Linked DNA regions of Homo sapiens: regions 2 and 3 are each linked to region 1. Evidence: promoter capture Hi-C in 16 types of primary human blood cells and fetal thymus (Javierre and others, 2016). All regions are on one chromosome and are shown on one strand. The core of a region is centred on a gene start or on the middle of the fragment in contact, and the rest is flanking DNA. Distances in the headings are between cores, read along the strand shown. Region 1 holds the start of WBP11 (WW domain binding protein 11). Region 2 overlaps DERA (deoxyribose-phosphate aldolase). Region 3 overlaps STRAP (serine/threonine kinase receptor associated protein).

Region 1 (4,229 bases), core at 1,229-3,728:
TAACAGTGTTTGCTTCTTTGATTAGGTTCATTTTCTATAGGCTTCCAATATGGACTTAAATAAGATAAACAATTTGGAGAGGGAAACTGGAGATGCCAAGACTAGATGACTAGATGAGTTTTGAGTCAACAATGCCTGGATCAGCTGATGCTAGACCCTGTGAGGTAAAAAAATTTTCTCCCTGGATGTTTTCACACCCTGCTCTACCAGATCAACATTGGGGTAAATGCTATCGTAGAGTAGCAAGTATAGGGGTTACTTTTCTCTTTTCTAATTTCAGTAAAATTCTTAAATTTCACATTGAATGCAGAGACTTTCATTTCTACCACCAGCTTCAAACATCATTTAGTTATAAGGGGACATACTCAGTAACTTCTGCCTAGACACAAACTCTAGGCCTTCGAATGAGACAGAAATACTACCATATTTTTGACCATCAGAGTAAATCTGGTTTTCTGTAAACTAGAAGAGACTGAAAAATGGTTTGTAACAATGTGCTTCAATTAGGACAGGAAGCTGATCTGTAAACGTCTACTGATTACACAATGTAAACCGGATGGATTTGAAAATGGTAAAAATCAAAACTAAAAACATCAAGGTCCTGTTTCAGTCACTGCAATCAACCCTGACCAACTGTGATAATTAAATATCGCTCAAGTGAATGTTCAAACACTGAAACATTTAGAAGACAAGAAAGCAAAACACAGCTACACATATTGCATTTAGGATGCAGAATAGAAGGTCACTACTCAAAGCATTTGTCATTTAAAAGAAAGTCATAATTTATTATAAGCTTTCAGAAAAAAGAATATAATTTCATTTTCAACACTAGCAAAAAGGAGGCAGCTGCCTTTGCTACATGACGCATTAGGTGGGCCATTTCACTAATTACCTGATTTTAGAAAACGCCAAAGGCTATGGAAGCCTATTAATGGTTCCGCTGAATCTCTGCAGATGTGTTTGTTTTCTAAATCCTTTGCCAACCAATAATTCCCATGAGGACTCTTTTAGTCTATACTGACAAAATTATTAATATGCTGTTGATGCCAGACTGTGTTTGTTATAGTTGATTCTCCCATCCAAGTACAAGAAATGTATTGAAATAAAAACTGCTCAGCATATCTTAAAAATAGTAGCTACATATAAAATTTTAGCTACATGAAAGACTTTAATATTTCCAACATACACTGTTTTCTCTTTCTCTTCTTGCATTGTTTTTCAAAACGAGTTGCAAAACTATGATCACTAATGTGTTAGGAAAGAAAAAAAACTAGTTGCAAAACATTACAACTTAGCTCACCTTCGCAGTTCAAGATTATTTTCTTTTTTATGTACTACCTGGTTTATCAGCTTTAACCTACAATATCTCGTCATTGCTTTCTGACACTCAAATTCAGTCTAAAATCAAATCAAGAATTTCCTAACACAAAGGTAAGTTTAGGTATAGGACCGATCTTATACCTTCAAGGGCAGTTTAAAGATTCTGCTAAAAATTAGTATGTATCTCCATCAATATTTTGAAATATTTATAACTGGTGGTAAGAATAGCCTTCCTACATGGGATAGTCAGGTTAAGATTAGAAATAACCAAGCGTATCCTCTAAGATAGTTTTTTAAATGTTTAAACTTACCTTTAAGGGAAATAAGTGGGGGCTGACTCACGGAAAGAGGGGATAGAAGGTAGGGAAAGGGCGAAGGCTAGAGTTAAGTGAAGAATCCCGTACGTAGAGTGACATCATAGAGGACTTTTGGCTGGTGAAAAGACCAGTCGGGAATATAGCCAATATATATCAACCTTGCCACTCATATAACTTAAAACCGACTGCATATGTATCCCCGTATTTCTTCTTCAAAACACTACTAACAAATAATAAATCACCGCCCATATAAGCAATCTGCGACTCTAATACGGGTGCTAATTTATTTGTTCAGGTGGTCTACAAACGTTCTGTTCTGCCTGTCTATTAAATTTCCACACGTACTAGGCGCTCACATGGGATAACCTGATGCTTACAAAGCGGATTAAACTCAGTGGCAAATGTTATCTGGGTATTCGTTTACACACGGAGACACCCCTAAAGGATCGCACCTGCTTGGGTCATAAGAAACAGAAAAATGCAAAAACTAAGGTAATTCCAAAAGACAGAAAACGCAGAACGCTTCTTTATCTGCAGAATGTACCGTTCTCGGACGGCTCAACGTACCAGGCTCCCAGCAACTAAGTCAAGATGCCTCCAACTCGAGAGACAGGACCGTCAGCCACTCAGTTAGCAGCTATCTTCTTCTAATTCCTATTGTACTAGATGAGCGCAATGAGGCGGGCTCTTAGCCGACAACCAACCAATTGAGTATTGTATGGAACCGGAAGAGACTCTGGTCCTGGAATTCTTGGGTATTCTCTATGGTTCCAGGGTCAAGCGGCGCTAAGAGAAGGCGGGACAGAGGAATGGGAAATGACGTGAGGAGTGCGGAGGGGCGCGAGGTTTCAAGATGGCGGTAGCTGAGGGGTTGACCGAGAGACCCAGTTGAAGGCCTTTACGAAGTGAAAGAGGCCGGGAGTCGCCCCCTACCCGCTTCTCGTAGTCCTGGGAGCACAGCAGAAGTGTGAGTGTATTGAATTGATTTACTACTCTTCCTCACCTCTTTCGTCCCTTCCACGTCCCGCGCAGCGGCTTGGGGGACACCCAGCCCCTTTGCCCCGCTCCTCCTCTCCCTGGTTGAGGTCTCCCTGTTGCGGACTGGGCTATTCCTGGGCCTGGGGTGGCGCGGCGACCAGTGGTTGCGCGGTTGGCATCGCCCGGGTCGGTTGGGGCCGCTTCTTACGCACGTTGATTAGTAGCCTTAGGTTTGACGTCTTGTACCTCGAGTCATGGTCGGTCAGCCGTCGCTATGGTTTCGTCAGTTGCTGGTGTTGCCTCCTTTGGTGAACCTGGACCCTATCCCATTGAAGCTTCTTTGGCTGTTTAGAGTTATCCAACGCTTATTTGGCTTGATTTTCCAGTCGCCTCCGCTTGTAGACAAAAAACTAATCTGCAGACTTAAGCTCCAGTGTCTTCCGTAAAATTCTCTGTAATTCGTATCCGTTGTGTTTCATTTGTGGGGGAGGAGATTCAGAACATGAGCCTGAGGAAACTTGAGAAAGGAAAGCACAAAAAACGCAGGCAATCAAAGATGGGAGAGCTTGTATATGTACTGATTTTGCTTGTTTTCCTCCTTCCCTACCTCCTACTCCCTGCTGCTCTCCCACCCCCCTAACCCCCCCATCCCCAGTTTTTCTTAGAAGGAAACCACTTGACAGGGTGTATGGTAGCTAGGCCAGGAATATGGATCCATTATAAAGATTTTAGTTAAGTAGTGAGTCAAACATCACAGGATATTTTATTTGTAATCTCATTGTATCATCAGAGCTTTGTTATAAAGTAATTGATGTCCCCATTTTTTAGATGAGGAAGCTAAAAATCAGAGCCTTTGATACCGCTGTCTTGAAGTAATTGCCACCAGAACAGCTGTGAAACATCTGGCTTTCTGAAACATCTGGCTTTCGGGGCAGTTGGACACTTGGTGAAAGAGACATTAACTGTAATAAACTGGGCTGACAAAATCTTCCCTTTCTTACCTTTAAAAAGTGTCTACTTGCAAAAGGAAGCAAATTTGTCCGCCTTTATTACTGGAAAGACTGCGCTTCAAAAAATTAAGCCCCATTATTTTGGAATAAGAGGAAGAAGTCATGTAATAGGGTACTGTGTTAATAAAAGTTTTAGCTTACAAAATATTTTTTCCTCAAACAAAAATAAGTATTCCCTTTAATTACCTTAAGAAATATATATTGGGAGTCAGGTCTTAGTAAGAAAAATATGTGTCTTAATATTTAAGTTTTGGGGAGCTCTCAGTATAGCACTAATTTCAAATATTTGCATTTTTAGTTGTGTTTTGAACTCTTGAGAGTCAAGCATTATATCTGAACTAGAACTGAATCTGAATTAAATATGCTTAAATTAATGAGTTTTTAGTGTCTTAGAAGTATTGAGAATGTACAGCATACATGCCAAGAAAAACCATGGAGAGAGGCAAAGGTGAGGTATGTGTTTTGAGCCTAGATCCATTACCCCCATTCCCTTCTTATTCTTCTTTTACAATTACATGTTAATAAAGGGAGGTTATAGAAGAAGGACTAATGAATTCTGATGTTCATGGTTTGTGCCATATCGTTAAAGCATTTTCTAGTTGTT
Region 2 (4,229 bases), core at 983-3,482, 1.1 Mb before region 1:
AGTAAGCCTTCAGGGAGGAGGTGAAATGGTGAAAGCCAAGTATTTTCACAATATAGGATCGATTGGAATTACAATAATGGCTACCATTTATTGATCACTCATCAAGTTAAAGGTAATTTAATTATATATCTCACTTAATAGTCTCACTAACTCTACCAGGTAGCCATTAGGTCCATTTTACAGATAAGGAAACAGCTGAAGCTCAGATATTAAATTACTTGTTCAAGGTCACACCATACTTGTCAGGGCTAAGATGGAAACACAGATCTCTATAATTCAAAAACCCAAGTTATTTCTAGAATATTGTATTTGTAATCTCTACAGTGAAAAATATATTTACTGAGTTCAATTATTTAACTTTTATATATATACATTTTAATTTTAGAAACAGGGTATTGCTCTGTCACCCAGGCTACAGTACAGCAGTATGATCATCACTGTAACCTTGTCCCGCCTCAGTTTCCAAGGTAGCTGTGACCATAGCGGCATACCACCACACCCAGCTAATTTTGAAACTTTTTGTTGGAGTCTGCTATATTGCCCAGGCTAATCTCAAACTCCTGGGCTCAAGCGATCCTCCCACTGCAGCATCCCAAAGAGTTAGGATTACAGGCATAAGCCACCTAACCCAACCACATATATAATTTTAATAGAATTTTATAGACAACTCTATTTTCAGTCTTTAGAATTCTTACCTGGCTAACATCATTCAAATATTTCTGGATAGAATTATTTGGCTGTTACTCACTAACTCAATTATTTTCTTCAACTAAAGACTGAGAATACAGTAATTTGTTTAAGATTATATACTTTTCATGAAATGAAAGAACATTCTGAAGAAACCAAATAATCAGAAAAGCAAATTGGAGATGAATAAATGTGTTCTATTTGAAAAAACAACAAGAAAAAGTTTAACCAAATATGGATTTTCCAGGGGCAGATGAGAAAGCCCAGAGGTAAAGAAACCAGCTATGAAGCCACCATTGTGATTCAGATGTGTGATAGAATGAGCCAAGCCTAGGGAATAGAAGAGAGGAAGAGATGAATTCACAAGATATTTTTATGAAAAAAAAAAAAAGGAAGACTATAACCAATATTCTGCCATGCAGAGGAATGAATACAAAATAAAAGGCTCTGTTCACATAAGAATTTTTAAGTCAAGGTATACATTCATGAGACCTTGACTTAAGATCTAGAGAAAGAGAAAATATAATGTGTCTAGTCATCAGAGATAGGGCTGAAAATGTAAACTGATCACTGGAATTCAGAGCCTTGAAAGCCAGAGAAGATTATGCTGGCCAGAGAAGGAAGGAAAAGGTCTGAACTGCAAGCACAGGGAACATTCTAGACCTACAATTCCACCAAATGGTCATTTTAAGGAATGATCAGAAGACTCAATGAAGTTCAGAACCAGAAGGGTTTTCAGAAATCTGTGTCTGTTTTTTAAAAGCAAAAACAGGCCGGGCGCGGTGGCTCACGCCTGTAATCCCAGCACTTTGGGAGGCCGAGGCGGGCGGATCACGAGGTCAGGAGATCGAGACCATCCCGGCTAAAACGGTGAAACCCCGTCTCTACTAAAAATACAAAAAATTAGCCGGGCGTAGTGGCGGGCGCCTGTAGTCCCAGCTACTTGGGAGGCTGAGGCAGGAGAATGGCGTGAACCCGGGAGGCGGAGCTTGCAGTGAGCCGAGATCGCGCCACTGCACTCCAGCCTGGGCGACAGAGCGAGACTCCGTCTCAAAAAAAAAAAAAAAAAAAAAAAGCAAAAACAAAAACCACTATTTTTTAGAGCAGTTTCAGACTCACAGCAAAACTGAACAGAAGGTACAGAGATTTCCCACACAAGCTTTGCCCCACACATGCATAGCCTCCCCCATTATCAACATCCCCCACCAGAGTGGTATAAACCTTACAACTGATGAACCTACATTCTCGTGTGTCTGTTTTACAGACTTGGAAAGTACAAGCCAATGTACTGAAGCCCCTCCCCACCCCGCAAGGTTCCACAGCTAGATGCTATCAGGTCTACAACTAAAGTGCCTGGGTCCCAATCCTGTATCCTTCCCAGATAAACCACAGTGCATTCAATGAAGCACAAATGGGCAGGTACACATTCCCTGACATTCTTTCCACAGGATACCTAATTTCAACTTGGCCTGTAAAAACAACTACTGTCAAGCACCAAAACAACTGAACTTTCTCTAGGATGCTTTTCTTTCAGACGGTCTTCAGTATTATCAGCATCAATGCCTATTTTCTAGACTCTACATGCTAATCACTGTGTCCCAAAATTTCTCTATATTAGTAGTTTAATGCAACACTCAGTCAAATATAGCATTCATCTGCAGACTGAAATTATGATTTTTTTCTTGCTGGAGACAGATCTATGGAAATGTTTTCACTAATAAAAATCCATATGAGATCTTTGCCTAGCTCAAGAGATTTCCCACAGCATTTTTAAATGATTATCTAAAGGTTAATAATACAATGTTGACTGGCTAATCATTTCAAACAGGGCAAGTGCATATCCTGATGATGGCCACAGTTTGCTTTCCTTGACAAGAATAAGGCAGCGTACTTCCCCGGGGATATTTTAAAATTTGATGAAGGTAAGCTTCTCAAGGGCAGGGCTCCTAAGTTCTATTGCTCTTATAGCTTTCACAAAGACATGGACAGTGATGAGTTCACAGTACTCAACATACACATGCTGAATGAATGACTTTGAGATTATAATAATGATTGCCTCCTAAGAAGTCAAAAGTTAAAAAAGGAAAACTCTGCTTATAAAGACACAAAACTAAAATACATTTCTTGTTTATTCCTTGGAAAATTATTTATTATTATTATTATTATCTGAGATGGAGTTTTGCTCGTCACCCAGGCTGGAGTGCAATGGCGTGATCTCGGCTCACTGCAACCTCTGCCTCCTGGGTTCAAGCGATTCTCCTACCTCAGTCTCCCGAGTAGCTGGGATTACAGGCGCTCGCCACCAAGCCCGGTTAATTTTTTTATGTATTTCTAGCAGAAACAAAGTTTCACCATGTTGACCAGGCTGGTCTCGAATGCCTGAACTCAGATGATCTGCCCACCTCAGATTCCCAAAATGCTGGGATTACAGGCATGAGCCACCATGCCTGGCCTCTTTGGAAAATTATTAGAAGCACTTAAGTTTCTTGCTACTTACTGAAGAAAAAATAATCTCCCTCAAAATACCACAATATACAGATCTTGAGCTCCTTCACCAAATACAATAGGAATTGTTACAACCTACTTTCTTCCCTGAGTCCAAAATACAAACTTAATCCATAATCTCAAGGAAACATGAATATGTTTTTTTCTACCAGAAAATTAACGGAATTACTCTTTCTGGTTAATCTCACATCTTCAGCTAATGGGATTAGAGGTCTATCTCCTCCAGTCTCTGAGACCACAGAGAAGATATCCTTATGTCAATTTCCAAAATCATCAAGAACACTGATTATATCCTTCCACTAACCACTGGCATCATTTGAATAAAGTATGTCCCTTTTCAGACACAGTGCACTTTTCAGATATATGCACTTACTTCACTACGTCACCCCGATGTTTCCAACATGCCTTCACATTCACTTTAACACATTTCTTCACTTATCTCAATCAAATAAAAAGGCTTATTTCTTTCCATATTTGCTTAGAGAAACTTTGCTTATCAGTGTAAAATATATGATATATAAAGATAATAAGATTAAGGTAAAAATGACATAAGATTTATCAAAAAAACAATAGCTCGTAATTAAAGATTCTCTGAATCTGAACCTGGGTCTACTCCACAGCTTACTGCATGGTTCTGCCCCTGCAGTATTCATTCATAAGAGCTATCTGGGAATCTTATAAAAATGCAGACTCATGGGCTTTCTCCCCATAATACAAATAATTTGGTATTTTTGGGGGGGGTATTTTTGAGACGGAGTCTCGCTCCGGATGTATCACCAGGATGGAGTGTAGTGGCGCAATCTCGGCTCACTGCAACCTCGCCTCCTGGGTTCAAGCAATTCTCCTGCCTCAGCCTCGCGAGTAGCTGGAACTGTTACAGGCATGTGCCACCACGCCCAGCTAATTTTTATACTTTTAGTAGAGACGCGCTTTCACCATGTTGGCCAGGATGGTCTCAATCTCTTCATCTCATGATCCGCCCGCCTCAGCCTCCCAAAGTGCTGGGATTACAGGCATGAGCCACCACGCCCAGCTTC
Region 3 (4,229 bases), core at 459-2,958, 1.1 Mb before region 1:
ATAAAATAGGACTCAGTAAGAAGTGACAAGAGATGGAATACAGACCAGCTGGAGAACTGAATGCAAAGAAAGGATCCAGCCAAGCAAAACATTAGGTAAGAGTGAACCAAGTAGCAGAAATATCAAGTGAAAAGGACTTGAGACAGAAATGAGGCCACTGTGGCTAGAGCAGGGCAAGCAAGGGAAATATGAAAAAGTCACAAAAGGTATCAAGAGCCAACTAATCATAAGAATTTCATATAATGGGAAGCCATTACAGATCTTAACAAGGAAATCACCTCATCTCTTCAAATCCTAAAGCAATTACCTTTCCTACTGTATGGAGTATGGATGGGATAAGAGCCAGACGAATGAGTAGGGGCAAGAGGGAGCAGTTATGAAGGAACTGAGAAATAAAGGTAGCCTGCCTAGGGTGGTAACAATGGAGAGGAGGCAAAGCACAGCTTCGAAGAGCCCACAGGACTTGCATATAGACATGGGCATGAGAGAGAACACAGTCAAGGATTTACATGTCTTTTAGTTTGAACAAGTAAGTATAAGTTAGTACCAGTTAGTGGAATGGGGAAAGGTTGAGGGAAACAGGTTTGATTTAAAAAATCAAGACTTACGATAGGTAAGTCTGAGTCTTATGAAAGGTTAAGATGGAGCACTCAACTATGCTGTCAAACTCTGGTGCTCAAAGAGGCAGACCAGGTAGACAACATATAAACAACGATGTAGAACCTATCAGAAGATCTTGAGTAACAGCAGATATTTTTCTTTAGACAACAGAGCTAGAAAGTGCAGCCCAGATCTGAAGTCAAGAAAAAAAAGGAGGAACTGGCAAATACAAGAGTCAGTAAGGTATAAAAAGACCCTGCCGGGCACGGTGGCTCACATCTGTAATCCCAGCACTTCGGGAAGCCGAGGCGGGTGGATCACGAGGTCAGGAGATCAAGACCATCCTGGCCAACATGGCAAAACCCCGTCTCTACTAAAAATACAAAAATTAGCTGGGCGTGGTGGTGTATGCCTGTAGTCCCAGCTACTCAGGAGGCTGAGGCAGGAGAATCGCTTGAACCTGGGAGGCAGAGGTTGCAGTAAGCTGAGATCGCACCATTGCACTCCAGCCTGGGTGACAGAGCGAGACTCCATCTCAAAAAAAAAAAAAAAAAGACCCAGGAGTGTAGTTTCATAGAAGCTAAAAAAAAAAATCAAAAACCAGGAAGTGGATGATTATTGAATGCTGCTGAAGGTTTAGTTAAGATGAGAACAGAAAAGTGACCACTACTCTTGAAAGTTTTGTTAAATTCTACTGTAGGATTCTACCATTACCAAGTGTGGTAAGCAGACTAATAACTAATGGCCCCCACAAAGATGTCTACTTCCCAATCCCCAGAACCTGTGAATATGTCATCCTATATGGCAAAAGGGACTTTTGCAGATGTGATTAAATTGAAGATCTTGAATTGGAAAGATTATCCTGGATTATTCAGGTGAGCCCGATATAATTACAAACCTCCTTATAAATAAAAGAAGGCAGCAGGAGATAGAGTCACATTCAGAATAAGAGATTAAAAAACGGACACTGCTGGACGTAAAGAAAGAGGAAGGAACCATGAGCCAGGGAATGCAGCTGGCTTCTAGAAGCTAGAAAAGGCAAGGGAACAGATTGTCCTGTAGAGCCTCTAGAAGGCTTGCAGCTCTGCTGACACCTTAATTTAAGCCCAGCAAGACCTACTGTGGACTTCTGACCTCCCTAACCGTAAGATAATAAATTTGTGTTGTCTTAAGGTACACATTTGTGGTCACTTGTTACAGCAGCAGCAGGAAACCAATACACAAAGGACTGTACCTGTACAGGGTCATTAGACTTTTATGAAACCTAAGGAGAAATTCCCTTGGTTCATAAATAACAAGCAACTTCATGATTCCAATCTGATGCGTACAGAACTTTATTGAGGGTAAATCAGACTCTGATTAGAGTCTGAGCAACTGCTGGTACAATGACAACACTGCTGCAATCCAGAGGTTCAGGCATGTAACAAGCTGACACAAAAATACTACCACTCTATGAAAGCCAATATGGATCACCAGTTGGCTCCCCTGTATTTCTCTCGGCCCTCACAGGTTGTCACAGCCTACAGTGCTTTCTTCTGGTTATCACAAATCCTCAAAAATTAATCTTATTCTTTGGTTGACTCATATTGCTTTTAAGAAAAGTTATCAAGGGTCACTCACAGGACTGATCAGGAGAAAAAGGAAGTTGCAGAGATGTTATTTATTCATCTGAAGTATTTCCAAATTACTCATTTAATATGCCCTCTTTGTTTTAAAAAATAAATTACAAGTCTAAACTCAGCTGATCCAATTTATTAGAAGGTTTTAGAAGGGCTTTCTGAATGCCACCCAAATTTAAAGAATGAGGTAAAATTCCATACTTCTTAAACCACTGCAGGACTATAGTAATCCCATTTTTATAAAATCCATTCTATCTATCTGTATATACATACAGAGATGCCCTAACATGCATTCATGGTCATTTGATTTTAATAGTTTTTTGAGGAGTGGTAGGATTTTAAGTGATCTTTCAGCTTACTGCTAAATTTCAGTTGATTTTTTTTTTCTTATAACTAGCATGTATTATTTAAATAATTGTTTAAAAAGGCATGTCAAGCACTTCTATCCAATCTGGGAATAGAGAAGGTAAATGAAACACTAGTAAAGGACATAAGAATTTCAAAAATTCAGGACAAGTAACTGAATCTCAATATTATAAAATAATGTTTACTACAGATTAATTGGCTTACCTTTTGCTATGGTTATGATACAGAAAAACCTTCTGGCTATTTCCACTTATAAAACTCACATTAGTAGTTTTTCCCCAAAAAAACCAAACATTGTTTTGTTTTAGAGGCATTTTATTTAGACAACTAAAAACAATTAGATGTTCAGAGGCAGTGTACAATGAACGAGAAATCAAACCAGTTACTTTATCATGTATTCCCTCTTCTTTACAACTGAAGCAAAAAAAGAAAAGGCATTCTGCTTTAAGATCAGAAAAAATCAGCCAATATAGTTTTCTTCTCCATATTAACATAAACAGCTACAAGAACCCTAATTGTAATAATAGAAATTGGATGTTGGCTTGTATATATTCATTAAAAAGATAACAGGCCACTGTACTATAAGAGGATAACTCCACCTCCCTTCATCTGACACTTGAGTTTTCACTTACAGGTAACACCAAGTTAGTTAGTTGTTCCAGCACTGGAGCTAATTCATTTTCCTCATTATTTACTGCTGTTTCTGCCTTAAGCAGACAGTAACTCTGGAAGGCTGATGCTTTTCTCTGCTTGCTTGTTTTAGTCAGTTGTATACTAACTGCACATATGATTGACGCTCAGGCCTTAACATCAGGAGCTGAAGGAAAGATGCAATCTGAATTCTCTGAAGCAATTTCTTCTATAAGTAAAAAAAAAAAAAAAAAAAAAAAGTCACATTAGTCAACTTAATGAAAGAAAGAAGCAAATCTACATTTCTGTGTAATGAAGGAATGAAAAAGTGTTTGTAAAGCATACTGTGGTAAGGGAAAGAAGAGAGCAACTGCACATGCCACTAACAACTAGACTCATGTCATTGAAAAGGCAAAGAAGAAAGAGTTCATGTGTTTTATCCACTAGATTCTCTTACACCATAACTCAACCTCCAAGGGTCCCTTTCTGGCCTAAATTTTCAAAGACTCCAGCTATATAACAAACCCGGAATTAAAGTCATGTCTTCGAAGGATCTGGCCCTCTCTTTTAGTGATTCAAATCCTAATATTTAGTGCTATTTAAAGCAAAACATTAACCATCAACATTGTTTTAGCAAGAAGGTGCTTAACAATAAAAAATTTAAGGAAAACTCTATTGGGTAAATGGTAAACACCTTCCCAACCTCCCCCAAAATCATCATACCCAGTTTCTCATGGCAGCAATCTGCATATTTCTTCCTCATGATACCCCCACTCATCAATCTCACAATTCTAACAAGTCTAACAAAAGACTCTCAACTCCATCTACCTTTTTCTGTTCTCATTGCAATACCCTTATTAAAAACTACATGATAGGCCGGGTGCAGTGGCTCACGCCTGTAATCCCAGCACTTTGGGAGGCCGAGGTGGGCAGATCATGAGGTCAGGAGTTCAAGACCAGCCTGATCAACATGGTGAAACCCCATCTCTACTAAAAATACAAAAATTAGCCAGG

The links. The method cuts DNA at HindIII sites, captures the fragments that hold promoters and counts their contacts. A CHiCAGO score of 5 or more calls a contact.
Region 2: a contact is called between a fragment that was not itself captured here and the fragment with the promoter of WBP11 in region 1, in 1 of 17 cell types (activated CD4 T cells). The highest score is 5.1, in activated CD4 T cells.
Region 3: a contact is called between a fragment that was not itself captured here and the fragment with the promoter of WBP11 in region 1, in 7 of 17 cell types (activated CD4 T cells, total CD4 T cells, naive CD8 T cells and 4 more). The highest score is 12.4, in activated CD4 T cells.

What each region holds. Positions count from the first base shown.
Region 1 is chr12:14,801,727-14,805,955 of GRCh38, reverse strand. It overlaps WBP11 (WW domain binding protein 11), which reads left to right and starts at 2,478. Exons shown (of 12, transcript NM_016312.3): 1 at 2,478-2,604. C12orf60 (chromosome 12 open reading frame 60) reads right to left here and starts at 2,286. Exons shown (of 2, transcript NM_175874.4): 1 at 2,205-2,286. It overlaps SMCO3 (single-pass membrane protein with coiled-coil domains 3), which reads left to right. Exons shown (of 2, transcript NM_001013698.2): 2 at 1-1,306. RefSeq lists an enhancer at 1,943-2,182. The HindIII fragment of the contact is 2,157 bases long and covers 796-2,952 here.
Region 2 is chr12:15,920,551-15,924,779 of GRCh38, reverse strand. The region is part of intron 1 of DERA (deoxyribose-phosphate aldolase); the gene reads right to left. Among named protein-coding and RNA genes, the nearest start is that of DERA, 11 kb to the right of the region's middle. The HindIII fragment of the contact is 768 bases long and covers 1,849-2,616 here.
Region 3 is chr12:15,902,132-15,906,360 of GRCh38, reverse strand. It overlaps STRAP (serine/threonine kinase receptor associated protein), which reads right to left. Exons shown (of 10, transcript NM_007178.4): 10 at 2,883-3,444. The coding sequence ends at 3,383. Among named protein-coding and RNA genes, the nearest start is that of DERA, 7.1 kb to the left of the region's middle. The HindIII fragment of the contact is 6,674 bases long and covers 1-4,229 here.